Linked DNA regions of Homo sapiens: region 1 is linked to region 2. Evidence: promoter capture Hi-C in 16 types of primary human blood cells and fetal thymus (Javierre and others, 2016). All regions are on one chromosome and are shown on one strand. Each heading gives the region's core, a stretch centred on a gene start or on the middle of the fragment in contact. The rest is flanking DNA. Distances are from core to core; before and after follow the strand shown.

What was found. Contacts are between HindIII fragments. The CHiCAGO score rates a contact against its expected background, and 5 or more counts as called.
Region 1: a contact is called between a fragment that was not itself captured here and the fragment with the promoter of SAMD12 in region 2, in 1 of 17 cell types (fetal thymus). The highest score is 5.1, in fetal thymus.

The regions. Positions count from the first base shown.
Region 1 is chr8:117,529,035-117,535,472 of GRCh38, reverse strand. It overlaps MED30 (mediator complex subunit 30), which reads right to left. Exons shown (of 4, transcript NM_080651.4): 3 at 4,646-4,750. Among named protein-coding and RNA genes, the nearest start is that of MED30, 12 kb to the right of the region's middle. The HindIII fragment of the contact is 858 bases long and covers 3,370-4,227 here.
Region 2 is chr8:118,620,713-118,626,679 of GRCh38, reverse strand. SAMD12 (sterile alpha motif domain containing 12) reads left to right here and starts at 4,717. Exons shown (of 4, transcript NM_207506.3): 1 at 4,717-4,876. The coding sequence starts at 4,864. It overlaps SAMD12-AS1 (SAMD12 antisense RNA 1), which reads right to left and starts at 5,679. Exons shown (of 5, transcript NR_038210.1): 1 at 5,494-5,679; 2 at 5,025-5,145. RefSeq lists a silencer at 4,375-4,524 and enhancers at 4,625-4,824, 5,435-5,644, 5,675-5,724. The HindIII fragment of the contact is 1,953 bases long and covers 2,998-4,950 here.

The sequences.
Region 1 (6,438 bases), core at 2,549-5,048, 1.1 Mb after region 2:
GTGATCACGACGTCAGGAGTTTGAGACCAGCCTGACCAACATGGTGAAACCCCATCTCTACTAAAAACACAAAAAAATTAGCCGGGCATGGTGGTGCACGCCTGTAACCCCAGCTACTCAGGAGACTGAGGCAGGAGAATTGCTTGAACCCAGTGAGCCGAGATCGTGCCACTGCACTCCAGCCTGGGTGACAGAGAGAGATTTTGTCTCTCAAAAAAAAAAAAAAAAAAAAAGTATCAATGGATCACGAGCTCAGTATTTTAAAAATTAAAACTTTTAATCATATATTTTAATCTTATATTCTAGAATGGAGACACAGAGCTTAAAGAAGTTGAGGAAAATAATAAAATAAAATTGTTTGAGGGAAACAATTATGTAGGTGGGTCCAGGAGAGAGAGGCTGTAGAGAGCTAAATCCTCATATGGAGAAAGTCCTTTTATACATCATATCCTTGTATCAATTATATCCTTTACTTAAAATCCACAAAACTCTATGTCAGTAGCTAGGGTTAACTGTAGGTAAGATTATTCTAGTAACAGAATATGCTACATTTAATTCACATTTATATATTTTTTTAAGGAATGAATTAAAAAGCCCTTTTGGTAAAAAAAAAAAAAAAAAACAATTTGTTTGCCTTTTAGCAGTTAATTTTATTTTCTTCTTCCTTATTTGGGATTTAAATTTAAGTTAACCAAATGTTAGCCCTCTCCCATCTTTTCCCTGTGCCCACCACCTAATCTTTCAGTGCTTTCTCAAAATATAGGTAGAAGAATTCATACAAAGAGAGTTATGAGGTCATCAAATGAGTTCTTCCCCATGATACTCAAGAAGGTACTTTACCTCTAAATTGTCTTTTAAAAAGCAATTCCCACAGAAATAGAGTTTAGCTTTAAACCTGGTTCATTTAAAACACCTAAACTGATTCTTTTCTCTTTGTAATAACCCATCAGTTTGATATCACGTTAACTAAAACATGTTTTATCCTGAAGTTAAAAGCACTTAGAACAGATCCAAGTCATTTAATCAAAGGAAGAGATCTCAATGTCAGAAGTAAAAATGGGGAAAAAAATTTAAAATACTTTCATTCCGTAAATATACACAAACTTTCAGAAACATTGTGTATCTATTGAGTGTGTGGCAGGAGAGGAATAAAAAAAGCTATAAACTGATGCAGAGAAAAGTGATCAGAAAGGACACAACAGCAGATGCAAGGTAAATTTTCAGATGAAAAGTAAAGAGGGAGTGGTCAGTGACTCAGAGAAGGCCTGGGCATGCAAGAGGGATGCCACCGAGAATACGCCTGATCCACCATGGAGAACCACAGACAGAGACCATCTCAGAGGCACCAGGTGAGCCCTGGGAATGAAAACTGGAGGAATGGTTAAAAGATTGACTATCTAGTAGTTTAAACAAAAAGTCTGCCAAACCCTATACTAGATTATGGAATGCCTTCAAATTTCTGAGGAAACATAACTTACAACATAGAATTTTATAGCCAGCCAAACTATCAACTGGACAAATATGTAAGGACTCAAAATTTAAGTGTCTGCATTCCTTCTAAAGAAGTCACTGATGTATGCACATCACCAACAAGGAAGAAAACCAAGAAAAGGGAAGACATGAGCTGAAGAAATAGTGAAACCAACAGAAGAGGTGAAGGAAAGCCCCAGAGCTGAAAAGCAGGCCTAGCCAGCATTCCATCCAGACCTATAAGACCATAGAAAACTTGGGAGGGTGGGATGAGAACCATGAAACTGTCTGATGATTCTGACTGTGGAAAATTGGAAAATAGTACTGAGATGTTGTCATAGATGCATAAAAAACTAACTAAAATTTTAGAAAATTAAAGAGGTAAGAATTAACTTCAGAAAAACAAAAAATTATTCAATCAAGGAAATATGACCCTAGTATACTATGCGGCTTAGCAATAAACAATACTTATGAAGCCATAATTATATGATACAGATTATTTACTGAACCCCAAATATGATATAAGTGCACTGAAAGGTTTGAGGGAAACAATTATGTAGGTGGGTCCAGGAGAGAGAGGCTGTAGGGAGCTAAATCCTCATGGGGAGAAAGAAGTCCTTTTATACATCATATCCTTGTTTCAATTATATCCTTTACTTAAAATCCACAAAACTCTATGTCAGTAGATAGTAAGATTTTTTTTTTTGGTTACATGCTGCCAAAGAATTACCATATTTTGATTATAAAAGAGAACTTTTAAAAGTCAAAGACATGTTATTTCTAAGTTATCAAATTGGGAAAAAAGAGAAACTTAATGAAAATTGAAGAGAAATGTAAATATAGAAAAAGTATCTTTCTGAATTTACACAGCTTTATTTTTTACAAAATATTATAAAATCCTCTATGGTACAGAACAAACTATGTTTACATTAGTTACACATGTGGTACTCTGAAACCAAAGTTATTATTATAATGGTGTTTTATTTATATACATATTTCATTATATTTTATAAAAAAATCATTAGAGAAACATAAGCAGAACACATTTATTGAGGTAATACATATTTATCAACAGAAACATATAACACGTCTTAATAAGTGAATGTCTCATACATCTAGACTACCAAACACCAGTTATTTTTCAAGATCTAAACTAAAAGTTCCCATTCTCCTCCTCACCCTCTACCAATTTTTTACTGTGAGTTTTTTATTATGATTGTCATGTATTACAATCAGATTTTTTGGAAATAGTTTTCTAAATGTGTGTTTCACCTTTTAAAAAAGTTACAAAATTTTATTTTATAAAATCTATCCATCTTTTTCCTTTCTTCCGAGTTTTAAAATACTTAAAAAATTATCCAATATTTTGTTTTGCAGGTCTTATTTTCAACTCTGAAATTCATTTTGATTTATGGTGTAATGTAAAAGCTAGCTTAATTTCGCCCCCAAAGTTTCTATTTCTAAAGACTAATTTTCCACACAAGCCCTCTTCTGTCATATTAAATTCTCATGTACAATAAGAAGGCTGTTTTTCTGGCTAGATTATTTTACTAATCTGCCTATTCTTGTGCCAGTATTATACACCTAATTACCATTTTTATAATATGCTTCATATTACAGTTTAATTTTTGAAGCTAAGAATTCTGCTTTATTAGTCGTATTTATCAACATTTTCTTTGATATTTTTGTATACTTTCAAGAAAAAAATTCCATTTGGGTTTTATTTGGATTTGTTTATTGATTGGTATTGCACTAAAATCCTATTGTTTTTGCATGCTTTCTTATTAGGATTTGGATTGTTACTGTATTAAAACTGTGAGTATTAAATCAAGACTGGTATTTTTATAATATGTATTGCTCATCCAAGAACTTTATATGTTCTTTTAATCATTCAAAGCTTCCTTTATGTATCTTAATAAGTTTATTCATACACATTATTGACATAATTCCTATCTACTTAATATTAATTGTTACAAGAGTCAATAGAATCTTATAATCTAATAGGTTTACAGCATTGTAAGAGCATGGTATCAGTCTTGTCTTAGACCCTTTTACGGAACTCTTATAGACTAGTTGTTCATCAGTTGAGTTTCTTTGACCATTCTAACAAGCTCATACATAGTAACTCCTGTTTCCCAACTGTCATTTGTCCACTGTCTTTTTGTACTGGCTATAACTTCTAAAATAATATTAAACATAGTGTTATAAAGTATCTTATTTCATGCTTGTTTTTAATAAGGATATTTCTATATTTCACCTTATGAAAAATGTTGGGTATTTATCTAAAAGAAAAAGATTTAAAAAAAAAACACACTGTCTTGCTAATAGTTTTAAGTGTCCTTTGAATCAGCAACAGTATTGAATTTTATCAGATGTCTTTTAGACATGTGAGAAAATCTTTTTTCAAGGTAGTTTACTGACATCATGTATTATACATACAAACTGAACTATAAAATCTTCATATACCTCAGAAGACTCTCTTTGGCAGTGGTGGATTATTAATACACTGATGAGTTCTATTAATTAGAATTAAGAATTTCAGGAAGGGGCAATCTATATTTGTCAGTGAAAGAGTGATGCTGAAAGTTTTATTCACTGTGCTATCTCTGGTAGGTTTTGCTAAGCTGGGGCCACATTTCCATCCCCAGAATGAACTGACACCTTTCCCTATTTCTCTCTGTTTCACGAGAACTATTTGAACATTATCTTCTGAACTTTTGAAAGTATTCAGCGATAAATACATTCCAGTTACAAGCTTTTTGTGGGGTTGGAGTAGATAATAATGCTGGGATAGTTCTCTAAATTTTTTATTCAGGTGTTGAGACATTCACATTTCATATTTGTAAATTTTTATCATTTGCTGCTCCAAATATGCTATAAGCTAGAAAGGTAGAATTCTGCCCAGAAAAGAAAAAAGTAAATGGATTGTGACTAAGTGTCTAAGGAGCTCTTCTAAGAGCTTTATCGAATGAATTTTGCAATTTCTCTTCTGACTATTCAGACAGCATTTCTGCTTACCTTTCATTTCTTGGCTGTATTCTAAATAGGTGAAGTTTGCCGCAGAAACAACTTCATGTAATTTGATAATTCAAATTATGTTTTGGAGTTACATCAGACTCCCTAGTAATTTTTATCAATAACTCTAAAACATAAAATGTAAAAACTAACAACTCACTTTATTTACTTCAGCAATTTCTCGCCTCTCTTCACTAGCAAAACGAGGTGGGCCAGCCCGATCATCATTCTTTGAGCCATCTTCTTCCACATATGGAATAAGTTGCTGGGAATGATTAACAAAAATTAAAAGGCAAAAATATAATTCAAGTTTTCTAATCACTTGTATAGAGAATATATCAGATTAAGGTCAATTTTTATACTTTTATTTGTATAAAAATAATTTCAATTCAGGTGATGGCCTGAAATAAGAGCTTTAATAGTTGACCATTTCAATGCATTCTATGCATTACCCTTTCAGGTTTCTTTTGCAAAACAGCCTTTATAACATTGGTTGTCATGTACAACTAAACAATACTTCCAGCAGGAAGATGGGAGAAGTAAAAAATAAAATAAAATAAAATAAAAATTTAAAAAAACCCTACTCAATCAGCAAATATTTAATTATGAAACACTATAAAAGTAATGCCAAACAAGATGTGATTCCTGCCCCTAAGAGATTTGTAGTCTATTGAGATAGATAAAACAGGCTTTCCTTCATCTGCAATAAAAAGAAAAGAACTTCACGGATCTGTATTATATAATTGTCATTAACTTGCAATCTAAAACTTCAGAGTCTATGCAAACTTCTAGATGTCTTAAGTTTTCGCAGTTGTGAGAACTTTTTCTTTGTAGGAGAAACAAATTTATATAGCAATGAAACTTCTAGCAGAATCGTAATTAAGTATGCATGGTTAGTGATGGAATTTACCGCATAAGTGTGGCAGACTTCAGGAATCACCTAGCCTTTACCATCGTGTATTACCAATGCAAGAATAGGCTAAAGGTAAATGACTGGTAAAACTAGGATTCACCTGATAAAACTTCTTCAAATTCTTGGGATATATATAAACTCACCCATGTCTACATTCTCCTTTTCTTTCTTTCATCTGTCTCAATGCAGAGCTGTCCTTCCTCCTGAAGACGATTAGTCTCCATTCCTGTGCCCTGATTACTCTGCCCTCCTGTCTTCATTATTTATACACCTTTCTCTCAACCTCTCCCTACAGCTTTCTTCCTTTATTATTCAAACATGTTCCTATCTCTTCTATTTGGAGGGAAGCTCCTCTTCCTCCTGCAAACCTTCGATTCCATCTCTCCTTCCATCTACTGCTTTCCTCTCTTATTTTTTTCAAAGCTTCTTGAAAGACTGATATCCACTTGCCGGCTCCAGCTTCTTATTTCCTGTTTAATCTTCACCCGACTAGGATCAGACTTCACGCTGCTATCATTTCACTGAAGCTCTACTCAAATATACCAACAATTTTCATCTAGCAAAATCTACTGGACAGTTTTCATTCCTTATTTTCCCTGACTTCTCTGTAGCATCTGACGATGTAGGCCACATTTCTGATCTTTCTCCCACATCTCTGACCCCTTCTTTTTAGGCATTTTTGCAGTTTAATTTTTCTCTGGTCATCTCTTACCAGCTTCCTTTGGTGGCAGAGATATAATTTGTCAACAGGAAAGGGTGACTTATAGAAATATATGCCTAATTAACTAAATAGGTATGACCCAAGATTAAATTTAGAGAATATATTTTTAAAATATAGTGATTCCACTGGGCTAAATATAAAATCCAAATTAATAATAATAAAAATAATATTTTATCTGTAAAGTACTTCATGAAAACCACCTTAAAAGTATATGATACTATTAAAATTCCTACTAAAAATATCCCTGACTTAATTAAAAGGAGACACTGACAGCAATAAAAATTGCCATAGGAAAACATTTCTTCCTAACAACAACAAA
Region 2 (5,967 bases), core at 3,468-5,967:
GACAAGTGTCCAGGACACTGCTCTTCCATGGCACAGCCCTGTTTTCTTGCCTGTCAGAGGAGGCTCTGCATTGATCAAGTTAAGTTCATTCAGTGGCTTAACTACAAGTCGGACTGGGCAGACTTACTCCACACTTGGCAAATATCCTGAGGCCCTTGCTACTGCTTAACTGAATTATATCCATGTTCTTTGGGAATGGCCTCTCAGGCTTCCATGGATGATCAAAAGAGCAAACACTTATTGGGCATCCATTATGTGCCAGGACAGCGCACAACACTATAGATACTCTCTCAGTCACTGCTGAGCCCCAAACTGTGAGCTAGGTAATGTATACATTACACAATTAATAGCATTACAATACATGTGGGAAAACCAAGGCACAGAAATGTCAAAGAACTTTGCTAATAACCAACATCGAGTAAATGAGAGTCAGGATTACAATCTAGTTCTGTATGTCTACGAAACTTGAGTACTGAAGCCAAATATTCAGATAACCAGTTAATATAAAGGTAGACAGATTCTGCTCAAATTTTGAAGACATAATTTAAGTCTGATTTTGAAAGTATAGTTTAGACGAACGATGGTATAGAATATCACCAACTTATCAACAAACAGATAACACACAATGCGATTTAATTATGCACAATGTGATTTAAGCAAAAACAACTAGGCTTTTGCTTAAATCATGTTCCCTGAAATATGCTTACTTCCTCCAATGGAAGCCTGATATAACTTGAATGGTTGGCACTTTATTCATGACTCAAGGATTAGAGTTAGTATTTTTTATCTTAATTACAAAAAAATTATTTTTTTCCTCTCAGTTCCTCCTGTCAAAAATTTTACTTTTTAGGGTTTGAATCCTTTTGGTTAGGTTTAGAAGATCTCCCTGAACAGAATAGAAACATAATCTATTTACTTTTTGAGATTTATGAATGTTTTCTGTAGAGGCTTGTGAATATAGCAACCGAGTTAGAACAATAAATACAGTAAAGTACTTATATGTACTATTTTAAATCTTAGAATCCAGTGAAATCTGTAGCCTCATCTCAATATTTCTTTTTTTATTTAATTCACTATAAGGTAATGGGCTTTTCCTTCCCTTTCTGTGCTCTCTGATATATTCAGAAATTTTTGAATCATTCTAAATATCACAATTTCTGATATTAAAATATTTTAAACCCTTCATTTTATTAGTAATGACAATTCCTATTTGGCCAAGTGCTTATGAATTCAGATTTGTGATCACGTAATCAGTATTGAAATCTAGATGGAGTAACATCACAGAGTTCTACACTTAGGTAGACCTCAATCCCCTTGCTACAATTCATGTTTTGGAGACATGGGGCAAATTACTTAAATTCACTGAGCTTCAATTTCCTCATCTGGAAAATAGTGATATCTGACAATATTGTAGTGATTAAAGGAGATGATGTATGTCAAGATGCTTAGACAGAGCTTGGCACTTGTAATTTCCCAACAAATGCTACTTATAACAAGGATAAAAAAATAGTAGTAATAAATTATCTATTGAGTACTTACTATGTAACCACAATTATGACCAAGAATCTGGAAGATATGAAGCATAAGACTCAGTTCCAGCACTCGAAGTGCTTATATACTATAAGGAACAAACAATAGCATCATAATGAACACAGAATTTGGCTTATGAGAGGTATGGGATGAGGTCTGGACTTTGCCCCTTGCTAAAATTGGGTATATCTGTTAGGAACTGTACTTGGCTGCTGATAAAAAAGACCAAAAATAAGTCATGATTGCAGTCTGTGAAAGATACTAAAGCAGAAGCTAAGCTGTGCCCAAATTACTGAGCCACAGAAACTGAAGTAATACATGGGTATTGTTGTAAACCACTAAATATTGGGATAATTTGTTAACAGCAATCGATTAATACATGTGGCTCATCATGTTGTTGTATACAATTGTAATTCCTTCATTTGCATTACTTTATAGGAGGGTTTGGAAAGCTTTTTTTCTGCAAAGGATCAGGTAGGAAATATTTGAGGCTTTGTAGGACAAGAGGCAAAATTGAGGATATTATGTAAGTATGTCTTTATAATTTCCAGGCTTTGCAAATTATACTTTTTTTGTTTTTTTTCCAACCATTTAAAAATGTAAAAATCACACCTAGCTGGTGAGTTATAAGAAATAAATGGTGAGCCATATTTGGCTCATTGGTCTTAGTTTGTTGACCCCTGCTATATGGAATTATTTGGTTATACCACAGTTCATCTCTCCAATCTGTGTTGATAAATATTTGAGTTGTTTTCCATTTGGGAACATTAAAATAATGCAGCCACAAACATTCTTGCACATGTCTTTTGGAGAACATCTGTATGCATATTTGTTTGGTGTAAACCTAGGAGTAGAACTTCTGGGTCACAGGATAAGCATATATTCAGCTGAATATTTCAGATGGTTTTCCAAAGTGGTTTTGTGAATTTGCACACCACCAGCAATATATAAATCTTTATTGCTTCACAATCTTGCCAACGGTTGGTATTTTGTGTCTTTATCTTTCAAACATTCTAGAGATAAATGTAATTTTTTTTTAGTACTTCCCAGGTGATTCTAATGTTCAGCCAGAATTGAAAACCTCTGCGCAACTATTGTTTATCCCTTATTAGGCAGAACCACATGAAATTGTTCTATTTGTAGGTTTTAAAAATGGTCAAACATTGGCTATTTCATATGGTAGAAACTAACATCTCCTTCACATTTTATTTATACTAAAAATAAAACTCGTCTAGAATGCACATCACTGGGAAAAATATTAAAGATGAGCTAAGATGAAGTTTTAAAATTAACCACAGATTTCAATGACTTTTATATTTTTATATCACCCAGATATTTAAAAGCTTGGAACCAGACCAATGGTTTTCACCCTCAATGAAGACTGGAATCACCTGTGGGTTTTTAAAACCTGAGTGCCTCTACCCAAACCCCCATAAGCTCTGATTCTGTGAGACTAAGATAAAAGCTTAGGAATATATATTTGTAGAAGGCTGATGCACAGCCAAGGTTGAGAACCATTGATACTACCTGTCCTATGGCTTTCTTTCACATTCATTCAATCTCAGAAAATACTTAACACTTTGGTGATTTTATATACATAAAGTAGTGAAGCACCTGGATTTCAGTTCTTTCCAGAGTTTAGAATGCTTGGCTGTGTATTAGGTCGGAAAATTCTTTTTCCCATGGAAATTATGTCTCACTGAATGGGTCTCTCTCTACTGTACCTAAAAGAGAGGCTTAGGTTTGACTTGTACACAGCTCCATGGACTCAGAATTAAAGTATCAACAAGAGCATTTAATGGTTACACGCAGGTATTTTTTAAAGTACCTATACACATATTATTATTATATATTACCCAGTAGGGGAACTAAGCATGTAATTAGTGACCAGAACAACAGGTGTGCATGTATACACTGAGAAACGAAATTGTTTTGAAAAACATTTTTTTTTTTTTGCTGATGACCAAGACACACAAAAATGTCTAAGTAGTCATCATGGGAAGAATCCGATTTTTGTACTTCCTCATTTTACAGAGATTAACATTATATATGAGTGACTGGGTGGATGTGGTACCAAATACATTTGTAAACTGAAGGCCTTTAAAAGTCAATCCAGTCTTGAGCCAGATTTATTCCCGAGGCTATTCCCTTACCCCTTCCAGCCACAACTGTATCCGTATTTTCACACGCAGGAAAAAATGTTTAGAAACTTAATTTTTACGAGCTGTCGAATTGTATTGCTATCCACGTGATTCCCATTATCATGTCTGCTTATAGCATCCCCAGCACCTACAGCTAGGACATAGGTTCAGAAGTTGAAGGAACCTGATTCTCAGGCACTGTTAATTATTAGGCCCTATCACAGGCTGTCAACAGGCTCCAAGTCTAGGCAAATTGAAAGCCTCCTATCCTGGAAGCCAGACAGGCTTTCATCTGACCTCCTCCGGTGCAATCCTGGCTCCCAGACTTTGTTCCTAACAACCCCTTGGGGACGTTGCCTATTGGGGTTTAAGCCACTCCTCCTCCCCTACACCCCCATGCCAAGTATTTAGCCACCTGAACCACCCTGTAGGATAAGACAACTGTATCAACCGTCGGAATTCCCCCACAAAACCCATACATCTCAGGGTGCGAAGGAACAAGTTTCAACCTCACCCTGGGCAGCGTTCTCTGGCCCAGGTGGAGAACCACACAGGAGGACAGTGGTCCTGCTCTCCCTACTAAATGGTGGTTCAGGAGGCCAGGGGGCGGGGCGGTACCGGCGGCAGAGGCCCACGGACGAGCTCGCAGGAGCTCATCACACAGCTGACCGTCACCTGCCCACCTCACCACACCTGCTAGGTGCCAAACCCCTTGTAATGGACAGGGAAGGGCTCAATCACGGGTCCCTACTCTTAGCAGCGAACCTATCTCAGCGCACGGCCTCCTGGGAGATGTAGTCCAGACCGCTTCCCGGGAACCCCCCCCCCCTCCCCCCCCGCCCCGCCACAACCAGGCATCCCTGGTCCCCTCACAACTTCCCCAGGAGAGATTGCTCGGCCTGGCCAGCTGAAGCTGGAGTTGCTCTCCAAGTGTCGGGGCCAGGCGGCACTCCGCGGAGGAGTCGGGGTGCTCTCCCCAGTCCGAGCGAAGGGAGGGAACTACACTTCCCAGGACGCCCTGCGCGCGCCGAGCCGGGAGCCGGCTGCCTCGCTTTGCGTGACCGCGGCAGGTTGGTCCTGGAGCAGATAAGCGCAGAATATTTAGGCGAAAGCGAGAGGAAGGGGGGAGCGCGGGGCAGGAGGAGTACCTCGGCCAAGAAAATTATGCATGCGTTAGGGAAGCTCTGAGAGAATGGCTGTGGAAGGTAAGGGACGCTTGGGGCATTTTTAAGCTCCCTCTTAACCCGCGCACCCCAAGGCACACATCCCCGATGAAGCTTGGCGATCGTGGGGAGGCGAGGAAAGGGGGTGGCGGAGAGCGGGCCCCTTCCTCCTCCACCTCTTGGCACTCACCTGCGCCGCCAAGGCCAGTAGGCGCTTTAATTCAGTTGCTTTGGAGAGACGTGAAGGGTAGGTGCGTAGGACTTTGAGGTAGGAGGTGTGGAGACGAGTGTCCCTGATGCGAAACGATATCCTGGAAATGGGGGGAAAGCCGGAGGATCCGGCATGAGGTTTTGGCCCCGAGATGCCCTTTTTCCCTGCCCCCTCCCTCCGGAGCAGGCTGGGTGGCCCCGGGGCTGGGGATGCTTGGTTGGCCCCCCTCACGTGGGAGAGGTCCCCAGCCCAGGTGCGTCATCCGGAAGCTTGGACTGGGATTGGGTCGAGGGCCCTTCGTCCTATGCACCCAGCAGCGGCGGCCGCAGATGTACCCAGAGGGTAGAGGTGTCCCTACACCTGTCTCTGCTTATACAGCCAGCGCCCCGGGCTTAGCAAAGTTTACAGACATGAAATGTAATCAGCCAGGGAAAAGAAGTGCAACAACCTCTTCGATTTGGGTGAATCCTTTTCTTTGAAGATCACTTTCTTCTTACAGTCTTGAGCTTCGGCTTTGCAGTTTTGACCGTAAAGTCCTGCCTCCCTTGAACTTCCTGGTTGAAAGCAGGGTCAGGCTGTTCGTGAGGGATCCTGAGTTTTTCATTTCAGGTTATCTTACCTTGGAACACAAACTTCCTTGTTTAGGTAGTTTCTGAAGAAGAAAAAAAAACTGTGGACCGGAAGGGTTTGTGATGTCACATTAGAGGTCAAGCTGTGCCTGAATGATGAAATGATTGTGGGACGAAATGGGAGCCTACATTCACCTGCAGAATTTTGGTTTCTGAGTGCAGTCAGGTCAGAGGGCGTACTGAAGTAGGAAGAGGAGGGCTTGCCTGCCAGCTGCTTCAGGCGCCTTGCCAAGGGGAAATCAGCCTATTCCTTGTAGGCTAGAGACGAGAAGGCCACGAGGCTGGCTTGCTGC